Regions from separate parts of the Homo sapiens genome. Here all the other regions are linked to region 4. The links are contacts of gene promoters, found by promoter capture Hi-C in blood cells and fetal thymus (Javierre and others, 2016). All regions are on one chromosome and are shown on one strand. Each heading gives the region's core, a stretch centred on a gene start or on the middle of the fragment in contact. The rest is flanking DNA. Distances are from core to core; before and after follow the strand shown. Region 1 overlaps LOC107986924 (a long non-coding RNA gene). Region 2 overlaps ENTPD4 (ectonucleoside triphosphate diphosphohydrolase 4). Region 3 holds the start of BIN3-IT1 (BIN3 intronic transcript 1). Region 4 holds the start of RHOBTB2 (Rho related BTB domain containing 2).

The links. Contacts are between HindIII fragments. The CHiCAGO score rates a contact against its expected background, and 5 or more counts as called.
Region 1: a contact is called between a fragment that was not itself captured here and the fragment with the promoter of RHOBTB2 in region 4, in 2 of 17 cell types (fetal thymus and naive CD8 T cells). The highest score is 6.8, in fetal thymus.
Region 2: a contact is called between a fragment that was not itself captured here and the fragment with the promoter of RHOBTB2 in region 4, in 1 of 17 cell types (non-activated CD4 T cells). The highest score is 5.0, in non-activated CD4 T cells.
Region 3: a fragment that was not itself captured here is called in contact with the fragment with the promoter of RHOBTB2 in region 4 in 1 of 17 cell types (fetal thymus); the score reaches 5.9 in fetal thymus.

What each region holds. Positions count from the first base shown.
Region 1 is chr8:22,681,300-22,684,152 of GRCh38, reverse strand. LOC107986924 (a long non-coding RNA gene) reads right to left here. Exons shown (of 2, transcript XR_001745827.2): 1 at 1-2,853. Among named protein-coding and RNA genes, the nearest start is that of EGR3, 11 kb to the left of the region's middle. The HindIII fragment of the contact is 3,949 bases long and covers 1-2,853 here.
Region 2 is chr8:23,427,769-23,430,800 of GRCh38, reverse strand. It overlaps ENTPD4 (ectonucleoside triphosphate diphosphohydrolase 4), which reads left to right. Exons shown (of 13, transcript NM_004901.5): 13 at 1-1,639. Among named protein-coding and RNA genes, the nearest start is that of LOXL2, 25 kb to the right of the region's middle. The HindIII fragment of the contact is 1,281 bases long and covers 783-2,063 here.
Region 3 is chr8:22,641,753-22,644,527 of GRCh38, reverse strand. The region is part of intron 2 of BIN3 (bridging integrator 3); the gene reads left to right. BIN3-IT1 (BIN3 intronic transcript 1) reads left to right here and starts at 2,319. Exons shown (of 1, transcript NR_027715.1): 1 at 2,319-2,775. The HindIII fragment of the contact is 2,522 bases long and covers 185-2,706 here.
Region 4 is chr8:22,998,298-23,001,147 of GRCh38, reverse strand. It overlaps RHOBTB2 (Rho related BTB domain containing 2), which reads right to left and starts at 1,600. Exons shown (of 10, transcript NM_015178.3): 1 at 1,043-1,600. It overlaps RHOBTB2-AS1 (RHOBTB2 antisense RNA 1), which reads left to right and starts at 1,343. Exons shown (of 2, transcript XR_007060857.1): 1 at 1,343-1,469. RefSeq lists silencers at 891-940, 1,271-1,440, 1,661-1,920. The HindIII fragment of the contact is 10,673 bases long and covers 1-2,850 here.

The DNA of each region.
Region 1 (2,853 bases), core at 289-2,788, 320 kb after region 4:
TGTGGCTTCTCTGGTTTACCGAGACCCTGCTCTGCTCCCAGGGTCCCTGGATGACGAAGGTCCTTCCTCTAGGCCTCAGAAATGCCTTCCCGGGCCCCCAGGCACCCCGTGCTGCTCCTATCAACCCTTCCTTCACCCCATTCCTGGGAAACTCTCGGGTTCCACACCCTCCGATCCTATCCTTGCTCCGATGGTGCCCCTGAGCCCTGCTCATGCTGCTTGGAGCACAATGGCTGTCCTTTGGGTCAGCCCTTCTCACCAGGCCTGCCCAGGGCCTGCAGCCTTCTCTACTTGGGCCGTTTGTTGTGGCATCATGACCCAACCAGAAACAGACTGCTCAATCATAGACTTGTTGTTTGGGATTCCCTTTTGGGTCACGCACTGAGTTCCTAGCTAGAGTTTCAGGAATGCCTCCAGCTGTCAGCTCCCTAGAGGAATAGAGATGTCTGTCACCCTTGAGTCCGGGCACACCCCAAGCCCTCTTCAGGGGTACCTATCCTTGTCTATGGGCCTGTATTCTCTGAAATGGCTCACCCCAGAGGTGACCATTCACTCACCTAGAATCCATCAGTACCCTGTTCTCACCAAAGACAGAGAGGTTAGTGGCCAGAACAGAACTGAGCCTTTGAGCCCTTTGGTATCTTTTCCACAACAGGCTGCAAGAGCTCTCACACTTTTTTTTCCTTGGCGTCACCCCTCCACATTGTCCAGATGCCTGACAGTCTTCCATTCCTCCCCGTTCCTTTCTCTGCACTGCTTAGGAAGGTCAGGTTGGTCCCAGCAGGAGGGAGAGAAGAAAACTTCCAGTACCCGTGGAACCCCAGGGTGCTAATGAAAGTCTTCTTTTGGGTACTTGTTACTTACTTAGGTTTCAGTCCTAAAAATGAAGAGGCAGTTTGATAACCTGGCAGCTACTCTGGTTTTTCTCCTGGGGCCCTTAACCCACTTTGGGACCATCGCCTCCCTCCTACATCTGAATCTCAACTCTGCCACTTTCTGGCAGTGTGACTCTCAGAAACTTCTTAGTCTATGTGACCCATTATTTCCTCTTGTCTTATCATTGCTGTTGCGGAGTTTAAATGAGATACTGTGTATGGTGCCTGGTTCATGGTGGGTGCTCCATCAATGTCATTTATCTTCCCTGTCCCTTACCCCGTCCCCTTCCTCCAAACACAGTGGCAAGAAAACAGGCTCTGTCTCCACTGGGGATCAGTACATCAATTCAAACAACCAGGGGACCTCGCGGTCCCTGCCACCACTCCCAGCCCCTACCATCCACTGCTTATCTGTGTTCTGAAAATAGATCCTCTCCACCCTACCCCCAATCCACTCGAGAGAACATGAGTCCTTTCCCCTCTTGGCCACAGCCAAAGTTCATTGTTGTAATTTCCTGGCCTAATTCCTGACCCCTCCTCAGGTCCTTTTGTCCCATCTCTCTCGCTGAGATGGGTGGATGGGACACCTTCCTGATCCAGTATCATCTGCAAAGTTAATTAATGTGTCATCGGGCTGTTGCCTGCTTCCTGATCCTTATCATGGATTTAAATAAAACGCAGCAGCCCCAGTTCTGCCCCGTCCATCTCTTTCCCTTCATCTTAGTCATCAGTCCTTGACCTCAGCCTTCTGGCTAGCTCTTAGCTTCCAGCTGCAGGGCTGGTGGCCCTGCTTCTGCCCAGGCCTGGTCTGGGGGCAGAGGTGGCATGCAGGGCTTTAATGGAATGCAGGGCTTTAATTCTGCGAGAGAATCATGGACATCAGGCCCTTACCTCAAGGTCCCACTTCCTTCAGGGATTCTCCCTAAATTTTAGCCATAAGGGACTTTAAGATGCCATTTAGTCCAACATGCTCTTTTTCAGATAAGGAAACAGAGGCCTAAAGGGGTTCGTGACTTGTCCAAACTCACACATCTAGGAAGGGCAGAGGTGAGAATTCAGATCCTGACAATCAGTGGAAGGTCCCACAGAAAGGTTAATTGCTTTGTTTATTTATTTAAATGTGTGTCAAGGGCCTGCCATGTGCAACACATTCTTCTAGGCACCGGGGTTATAGCAGTGAACAAAAAGGCCTGCATTGTCACAGCTTACCTTCTCCAGGGCAGAAACAGGTAAAAAACAAACAAGCAAATATGTGTTGTGTCCGATTGTGATGTGTGTTATGGAGAAAAATACAGCAGAGGAAGGAGAACGGCTAGCACTGGGAGAAGGGGATTACAATCACATACGAGTGATCTGGGACGGCTTCACAGGGAGGCGTCTTTCAGCACAGGCCCAGGAAGTGACAGGATGGACCACGTGGCCATCTGAGGAAGAACTGTCTGGGTGCAAAAGTCCTCAGGAGAGCATGGTATTCTTGGAAGTTCGAAGAGTAACATGGAGGCAGAGTGGCTGGAAAGGAAGGGAGGTGACAATAGGAGATGAAGTCGGAGAGATAGTATGGGACCAGGTCACGGGAGCGCTTTAAAGGAAATGAATGTGTCCAAAAGAAGCAAAAAATGCTGAAGGCTAATAGTGAGGGAAAGGCCCCACGACCCCTGAGCAGAGCCCCGACCTGTACTAACTGGACTGCCAGGCCAGCCCTGGGCTGCAGGTACCATGTCCTTTCAGCCCTCAACGCCCCCATTCCTCTGCTCGGCTCTGTCATCCCCTGACTGCAGTCTCCTTAGTCTTTCTTTCACATCTGAGATGTCAAAGACCACCAATGATTCCTAAACTCCAGCCTGGCCAAGGAGAGACAGAAGTGCCTCCTTCAAGAACCATAACCAAGAGCCTTCTCTCTTCCTGTTGACACTTGCCTTCGTGCCAAGTTCCTAATGAGATGAATGACTCTTCCTGCTGGCCAGCCTAGGAGTGGGAA
Region 2 (3,032 bases), core at 174-2,673, 430 kb before region 4:
CAGCAGAGAGGGAAGAAAGGAAAGGAAGGGGCCACAAATGGTTGAAGTGGGCAGGTGGGCACCCAGGGAGTTAGGGGACCCCGCCTTCCAGCTCTGGGCATAGAAGAGTTAGTCACATACCTGAGGATCCTGAAACAAGGGCTGAGAAAACCTCATTGCTCCAGCTGAGAGGTAGTAGTGGATTTGCCATTTTTAAACAGTTGCCTAAGAAAAAACGTTGAAGAATATGCAGCAGACACTATATGTGGCCTGTAAAGCCTAGAATATTTACTAAAATATTTACAGAAAAAGTTTGCTGGTCCTTGTGAGAACAATGCAGTTCAAAAAAGGATACAGACAGAAGCATCCTCTTAAATCAGGAATGTAGTTTCCATTTGTGGGCACGAAAAGATGGACAAGAGAAGTAACCAAACTTCAATCTTAAAATATTTGTTGCACCAGAATTTCACTTCGGATTTTTCCGTCTAGATTATTTTCAAGATGAGTTTTGAAACAAACCAAGAAACCTGCCCCTCACCCAAAATTGTTTAAAAAGAGACCACTCAAGGGAGTTCATTATGCCGTATGGAGATGTCTGCAGTCGCAGCAAATCACATTCCAGAGAAGGTCTCGCGTAGGTGAAGACAGCCAGGTGCTTTCTCTAAGAGATACAGGGTGGGTGAGAGACAAGCCAGGGAGGATCTTAATTCAAGAGAAGAATTCATACCAAGAGCTGACCAAGAAGGCAGTAAATTCTGTGTACTTGTAGCAGAAGAAATTGGACTAGGAACTTGCCCAAAGCTTTATCAAAGAAAAGCATTGTGTTCAATCTTGGTAGAAACATGCCAGCAATAAGTGCTTATGTTCCATAGCCATATCATGGGCTTCTCACTTTTAAACCTCCTCCAGGGGATGTTCTCAGACATTTCACAATCCCTCTGGGGACATTACAGTAGAAGAGAAACACATGGAACTGTACCAGTGCTTTTTGCCCATGTTCATCCTAAGCTCCGGCTTTAGGCAGTGCTTTCTGACCTGGGCGGAGTGAAGACGCTGCTGGTGGCTGAGGCCAGTAACATGGGGCCCCTGCCCAGCCACCCTGAAGGCTGGGTAGGTCCCTCTTTTCACCACCAGTTTTCCACATCTGTGTACTCTAGATTAACAAACTCTGGATAAACAGATATTTACATTTTAAACTCAGGCCTACACAGAGTAGTTTTCCTTATAAGGAGCATGTATCACTTAGCAAGAAACTAAAAATGGCAAATGAGTTTTTCATCCTTTAAGAAAAAAATCAGCTTTAGAATTCTCTGCGGTCAGTTGTGTGCAATGCAACAAAACTACCTTTCAGTAAATTACTTAGTTATTTATTTCAGTGTTTTGTTTCTTTTGATACTAAGTTTCCCTTTCAATAATGAATGATGTGACCAACCAAGGAGAATTTGTTTGTTCTGTACTAAAATTATATTTTACAGTTAGGAATTATAAAAAGCAAGGGAGCATCTTTAAATGTTTTTTGTTTAAGCGATGTCTTCCATCCAAAGTAAGAATAATACTCTCGGAAGGTCCTTTTGGTGTCATGTCACTTGCTGTATGTGGCAGCCTTACAGTGCCACACTTGGGTACTGAAAAATCAATAAAACGAAAGTTCATCATCCCATGGCCCGTAGACTGTGTGGGCTTGCTTCCTTGTCATCTTTGAATCTTCTTACTCATTAGAATGATGAGTTGAACTTGAGTCCAAATTCAGTGAAATACATTGTCTGAGTCTGACGCACACTCTTTGCATGTGTTGTGTTGGGTGTGCATACAGTGAAGCACAATTGTGTGGGGTTGTGGAGAGGGCGTCCACACTCTCTGCAGCTCAGAAAGCAGATATTTCACAAGTAGTGACCAACCCACGACGTTAAGCCATTCACCAACAATAATTGCCACTCTGAGATGACTGTTTATAAGGTCACCATTTTAAGTACCTACTTGTATATAGACAAGGAAAAGTAATAAAATTAACCAATTTTTATGTATTTAATAGTAACAGCAAATGCTGACTTTATGTTACACTGTTTTGCAGTTCGATCTAAGCTTAGAACCTTTGGCTTACTTCCAGAAAATTATGACTGTCATTATTAATGTTACGTGTTACCAATATGGAGGATGACATTAGACGCTCAGCATGTTTCTCAGCCGTTGGAGAATACATAGATGTTCTCCTGGAGCAGGAAGGTGGGCCTGAGCCATAACCTGAAAATAGATGATAGAGACAGATGGGAAGGGAAGGGGACCAGCTGTTAGGACCAACAAAAATAAAGGCCTGAGACATGCCGGAGAGGAGAGGGAAGCGCAAAAACAAAATGAGAGAACAGAGCCAGCAAAGTGAGCTCAAGGGAGGTCCTCAAGCCATTGATCGCTAGGAAAACAGGACACAGCATTAAGATAGAACTGTCGTAAATAATTTTTGAGGCAGTGCAATGACTATAGGGCTTTTTGCCTGACTTTAAATACGTTAAAATATCTAAGATGTTAAAAGACATCTAAATTTTTATTCCACTTGGTGGAAGAGAAGTCAGTGCCTATTTCCAACACTAACCATGTTGACAGGTCTGAAAAGCCATGGTTCTGTGTTTTTGTTTTCAGTCTGTTTCCATTTGTCCTATGAATTGGCATGTGCCCTGTGGGTTTTTTTGGTTTTTTTGAGATCCGGAAATGCTAATGGTTTGCACAGAGGGGGTCGTGAGGTGCAGGTCACCTCTGTCAGAGTCACAGTGTCTTCTTTTGGAAACGTCATGAAAAGACAAAGGAGTGCCCGGCTAATCCCAAAGCACGCCTTGGCAGAGTGGATCTGCCTGGAGCATCCATCCGTGGCAGCATGAAAGGCAATCCTGTGAGAGTCTTCCTGGCCCCACCTCGTCTGGGAGCATGTGGGCCTGTGATCCCACCTCCTCCTAACAAAAGAAGAGTGTGTCTGTTGATGTGTTTTATTTTGCTTTTAGCCAGGCTAGTCCCCCTGCCCTTGCGCAGTCCAGCCTCTTTCTATTAATAGATCTATTAAGGTT
Region 3 (2,775 bases), core at 196-2,695, 360 kb after region 4:
GGCAGGGGGAATGGGTGGATTACAAAAATGTAGAGGAAGATATTGCTTTAGAACGGTCCACCTCTAGGGACTGGCTTGTGGTCTATACTTTTCCTAAGAGTGTTCCTGAAAGAGTGGCCCCCACCAAAGACACTGCCCAGGCATTTATTTCTGTTACCTCAGCTGCAGAAAACTCCAGGAAGCTTTTCCCAGTGGCCTCGGCCTGTTTGTGTCAACTTCCAAATGCATTCTTGGCCATGACCCAGAGTCACTCAGCAGGAAAGGAAGATTGAATCCCACCCCCCTTTAAGCCCACAGTTTTTATCCCTAGAAAGTTTTTATCTCCAGAATGGGAAAGGAAGAGAATCATAGATTCTTAGGAAGTTAGAGCTGGAAGCTCATAGAGACCATCTAGTCCAACCTCCTGATTTTTCCTGATGAAGAAAATGAGGCCCGTGGAAAGTTGCAATGACTTCCTCAAGTTATAAAAACCCCACACTGGCAAAGCTGGAGTTAGAACTCAGGCGTGAGCCCCTGGCTGATACTCTTTCCATTGCCTCATGCTTCCCTGGGCAGTGAAGCCCTCCCAGTGTTTTGGAATCCCGGTGCAAAATAGCCTTTTCAACCTCCTGACCCACAAATCTGAGTGGGTCTCTTGGTTTTAACATGGGAGACCACAACTGTAGAGCCTCTCTGATGTGACAGCTACAGGAAGTCCGGTGCTGTGCTGGCGGCAGAGGCCCTCGTCTGTCATCCCAGCCCCTGACGGTTCTCCTTGTCTTACTAGCTTCTCCCCTCCTTGGCAGAGCTCTCAAAAGTACAGGAAAGAGATTGCTTCAGTGTGGTGAGAAGTTTGGCACACATCTGACCAATGGCTCCATCTCTAGCAAATCCAGAGTAAGGTCACTTGAGAGGAAACAGGCCCAAGTTAAAAGCACCCTCACAGGGTCCAGTGGCTTACGCCTGTAATCCAACACTTTGGAAGGCCAACGTGGGGGCATCATTTCAAGCAAGAAGTTTGAGACCAGCCTGGGCAACAAAGAGAGACCCCGACTCTACCAAAAAATATGCACGCCTGTAGTCCCAGCTACTTGGGAGGCTAAAGCAGGAGGACTGCTTGAGCGCACGAGTTCGAGGCCACAGTGAGCTCTGATTGCACCACTGCACTCCACCCTAGGTGATAGACTGAGACCCTGTCTGTTAAAAAAAAAAGTTGGGGGGTGGGGCCTCTCTGCTTCATGCAGAGGCAGGGTGCTGACCAACTCAGCGCTGACCTCTCATGCAGAGGCTGACCATCTGTGGAGGCTCTCAGCTGAAGTCCAAAGAATCTGGGTGTGCATATGTTGGTCTCTAGCCGGCTGCAGGAAGTGGGAAGGTGTGGCTTTGAGTCTCCAGAGTTTAATCCATGACAGATCTGAAAGGGAAGTGGTTTCAAGAGGGTTCTTTTATTCTGAATGCTCACTACAAACAAAAACCCTCCCAGCACCCCAACCTTTATCAAAATGAACTTTGTTCTCCACAGAAAGTGTAGACAAACCAGCTGCTTTGCCAGTGTGTTGGTGGCAAGATCTCTGGCTCCGTTGATCTAAGGAGTGGCAAGGACTCGCAGTGCGGGCAGATGCACACAGGGCATCCCTCTTCCCTTCCTCGCATCTGTCTCGCTGGAGATGGAATTGTGGTCCTCTGATTATGGCATCTGCTCTCTGATAGACTGGGGGTCAGGTAGGGGTTAAGAAACTAGGTTTGGGAGGCTGGCAGCCTGGGTCCCCATCCTGGCCCTGCCACATGCTGTCTCTGACCTTGGGCAAGTTCCTTAACCTCTGGAGCCTTCATTTTCTCGTTTATAAAATCAGGATGATGACAGTACCTGTGTCACAGATGTTACTTTGAGGCTCACACAAGATAATACACTGAAGGCACCTAACACAGTGTCTGGCACAAAATAAGTCCCCAGTTAACTACATCACAGGAAGCTGGTTGATTTGACCTTCTTTATGAACCATCAGGGACTCAGCCTGTCCCAGGCAGCTAGATTTCCCAACGCAACAAAAGTCGGCTGGGCCTTTGATCTCTCACAAGGAATCACAGCTGAGCTACAGCTCGGAGTAGTTATTTGCTTCCCTGGCCTATACCCCTCCACTCCCCAGAGGCACTGAAGTAGAAGTAGTAAGACCCTGCCTCTTCAGTCTCATTCCCCACCCACCACCCCCTCCCGGCCCCCAAAACAGGCCTGGGCTGTGCAGTTGTCTCAGCATCTCTGGCAGCTGCCCTTGAACAGCAGTGACGCACTCTGTTGTTCTTGCCCAGGCACTTTCAGGGAGGGGAGCAGCTGTGGCTGCCTGGGTTATTGGAAGTCATGGAGCCCCTGTCATGGGAAGAAATGCTCACGTTATCTTCAGGGAGTTTCAGGAGGTTTTTGGCTCAAGGCACCCAACTGTCAGGCACAAAGAAAGCATTGTGTCCCTACCCTCACTGCTCTCCTGTGCCCAGGTTATTAACACAAATTCCATTATTGTCAAGGCTTTGGCTAGAATGGCTTGTTCCTGCTGGGGCTGACCATTAGAACTGAGATGGAGGAACAAAAGCTCCCCCGATCCCGATCCTAACCTTCCACCCAGTCCCCTCCCACTCCCCAGGTCCCATAAAGTGGCGGGAGCATCGTAGCGTAGGAAGAAGCCGCCACACCTTCCTCCATAACCTGGGAGGATGGAAGAGCTCTTCGAAGCTTTGCTCTTCGTGTCCCCCTGAAACAAGGGTTACTGTGAGTCTTGCACACAAGGAACATGCGCTCCAAGG
Region 4 (2,850 bases), core at 351-2,850:
CCATCCCTGTCCCATGATCCCTGTGCCCCTCCAAAAACAGCCTCCTGCCCACCGCTCTCCCAGCTCTTTGTACTTGGTGCAAGCCAAAACCCAAGGTGTGCTGAAATTAGCTACAAACCTCGTGCTCTCCCAGTCCCACCCCCACACCCCTACACACACTCTTTGCAGAGCTCAGAAAGGGCCCCTTTCCCTCCCACAGCTGATAGGAGGCTTGTTCATCTGTGGCTGCCCTAGTCTGGTTGTCAAGGAAACAACAGAATCTCCCTGGGAGCCTGGCTTGTCTCCTAGCAACCAGTATCCCACATCATCTTACAAAATGGGAATGGGAGGAAAATCCTGAAAATGAAGGTAAAATCAAGGGAGATGGATTGAATGGAGAATTGGAAGGAGAAGAACAAAGAGAGAGTGGACTCCTAATTCGGGGAGGCTCCCACGGGGGTCGCTGGCATTGCAAGAAGCCCCGTGCAGATCCAACAGAAAGCAAGGCCCAAAGGGACCCTGAATGGTCAGATTAAAGAAATGCAAGCCTAAACACAGATAAGCCCCCTCAAACCTAAAATGTGGACACATCACCAAACACCGCCAAAGATCTCCCCAGTAGTTTCACAGAACTCAGTTACATAGACTGCAATGGAGTTGAGTTCAAAGAACCAGCTCCGGAACCGCCAGCAAAACACCCCAATTCCACTGTTGTTTTGTGTTTGTTTTCTTAACAGAATCACTCCCACCACTCTGGACCGTTTTTCCTTTTTTCTGACACGCTACTCTGCACACACACAAAATAGAAATTTAAAAATTTTTAAACATCGAGAAGGGGGAGGGGCACGACAGGCCGAAGCAATCAAGTCATCTTCCTTTCCCTAGAAACACCGGAAAGGATTAGGCTCCAGCCCCGCTGTACCCAGCAGCCGAAGCCAGAGCCCAGGGACTAGCGGGGCCCGGGGAACGTAGCGAGGGGCGCGGCAGGGCAGGGAGGGCGGAGCGGCGCGTCTGCAAGGGCTGCTGGCCACCCCGCCATAACCGCAAGCAGCCATCTACTTACACCACTACATGTGACGGGGTGGCTTCTAGCGTGAGGAACACATCTCTTCCTGCTGAGCACGCTCATTTTAGTGAAATGTCAGGGGTCCCTCCGCGCCTGCAAGTTGGGACGACGCCGGCGCCGCCGCGCTGCTGCTGGGCTCCAGCCTCCCGGCCAGCTCGCGGCCACTCAGAAACTCCGGCAGGGCAGCCCAGGCCGGACGTGGGCCCAGGAGCGGACGCGCGCGCTGCACTGCAGCCGCTGCCCCTTCCGGATCAGCATCGCCCCGCGCGCCAGGCGCCCAATGTCACGGCGGCGCGCGGAGCCGGGCTGCGGAGGCAGCGGGCGGCGCGCAGGGGCGCCGGGAGAGGGGCGAGGCCGCCGCCGCTACGCGCCCGGGCCCGCGGCGAAGGCGCTGCCGCGAAGACGCCTGGCGCTGCAGTCCCAGGTACCGCTCGCGACCTCCTTTTTTCATTCACAAAAAAAGGATAGGGAAAAAAAAAAGAAAAGAAAAAAACGGGAGGGTAAAAAAAGGAGGAGAAAAAAATCGCACCCAAGACGACAGCCGTGACGGGCCCCGCCCACTGCCGCGCGCAGTTGGTGGAAAGCGTTCGGGGGGCGGGGAGGGGGCGGGCGGGGGAAGAAGGGGATTGGACGCCCCGCAGATCCCGCCTCGCAGCACCGCTCCCGCCCACCGCCCGCGCTCTTCCGCCCCTCCCGCAGCGACGCCGCGGGGAGGGTCTCGGCTCGCGGGTCTGGGTGGCGCCGGTCCCTCCACCTGGCGAGGCGCAAAGGCTCTCCGGACGCCCACGGGGTTTTCCCCTTTCCTTCGGGAGGCGGGGGAGAACCTCTGAGAGGCATCCTAGTGCACCCTGGAAGGGATGCTAGTTGGAGGAGAACGTGTGGTTGTAAGCCCAGGCCCCCACCACTTGCCCACGGGGAGGCGACGGCAGGGGCAGTCGGGGGGGCGGGGGGCGGGGGCCGGGTAGGGACGAATAACCGGCGTTTCCATACAAGCCCTCTGCTGCTTTGGGAATTTTCGTGGCACTTGAGAGCCTTCCTCCCTCCATGGCCCTTAATGAGTTGTGGGGTGGGTACCTGTACCACGTTACCTGTCTCCCACCTAGGCCTTCTTCAGCGGGTCCCCACCTCCATCCCATCCCCCTCCTGTTGCCTCCTGGAGTTCAGTAATAGCTGCTAATCTCTGAAAGAAACACCATGAAGTGAGTAGCCTCGAAAATCGTCCCTAAGCCTTCTTTGGGTTTTCTGCCTCAATTTACCCCTCTGTAAAATAGAGAGATTCTAAGGTATAACATCTATAACCTGAGGGGTCCCTAGAAGACACTTTCCATATTCAAGGCTGGTTTTATCAGGATAATCTTTTTTTTTTTTTTTTTTTTTTGAGTCTCCCTCTGTTGCCCAGGCTGGAGTGCAGTGGTGCAATCTTGGTTCACTGCAACCTCCGCCTCTTGGGTTCAAGCAGTTCTGCCTCAGCCTCCCGAGTAGCTGGGACTACAAGTGCACGCCACTATTCCCAGCTAATTTATGTATTTTTGGTAGAGACGGGGTTTCACCACCTTGGCCAGGCTGGTCTCGAACTCCTGACCTCGGGTGATCTGCCTGCCTTGGCCTCCCAAAGTACTAGGATTACAGGCGTGAGCCACCATGCCCAGCCAGGATGATCTTGACTGCTAGTGTTAAGTAGTCAGCTCAGTCTGGTTTGATTCATCTCCTCAGTTACCTCTGGACAATTTTTAAAGCCCAGACCAGCCTGCCACCCACCTGAACCGCCTCCACCACTCCTCCATCTTGTGCTCTGAAAATGCAAA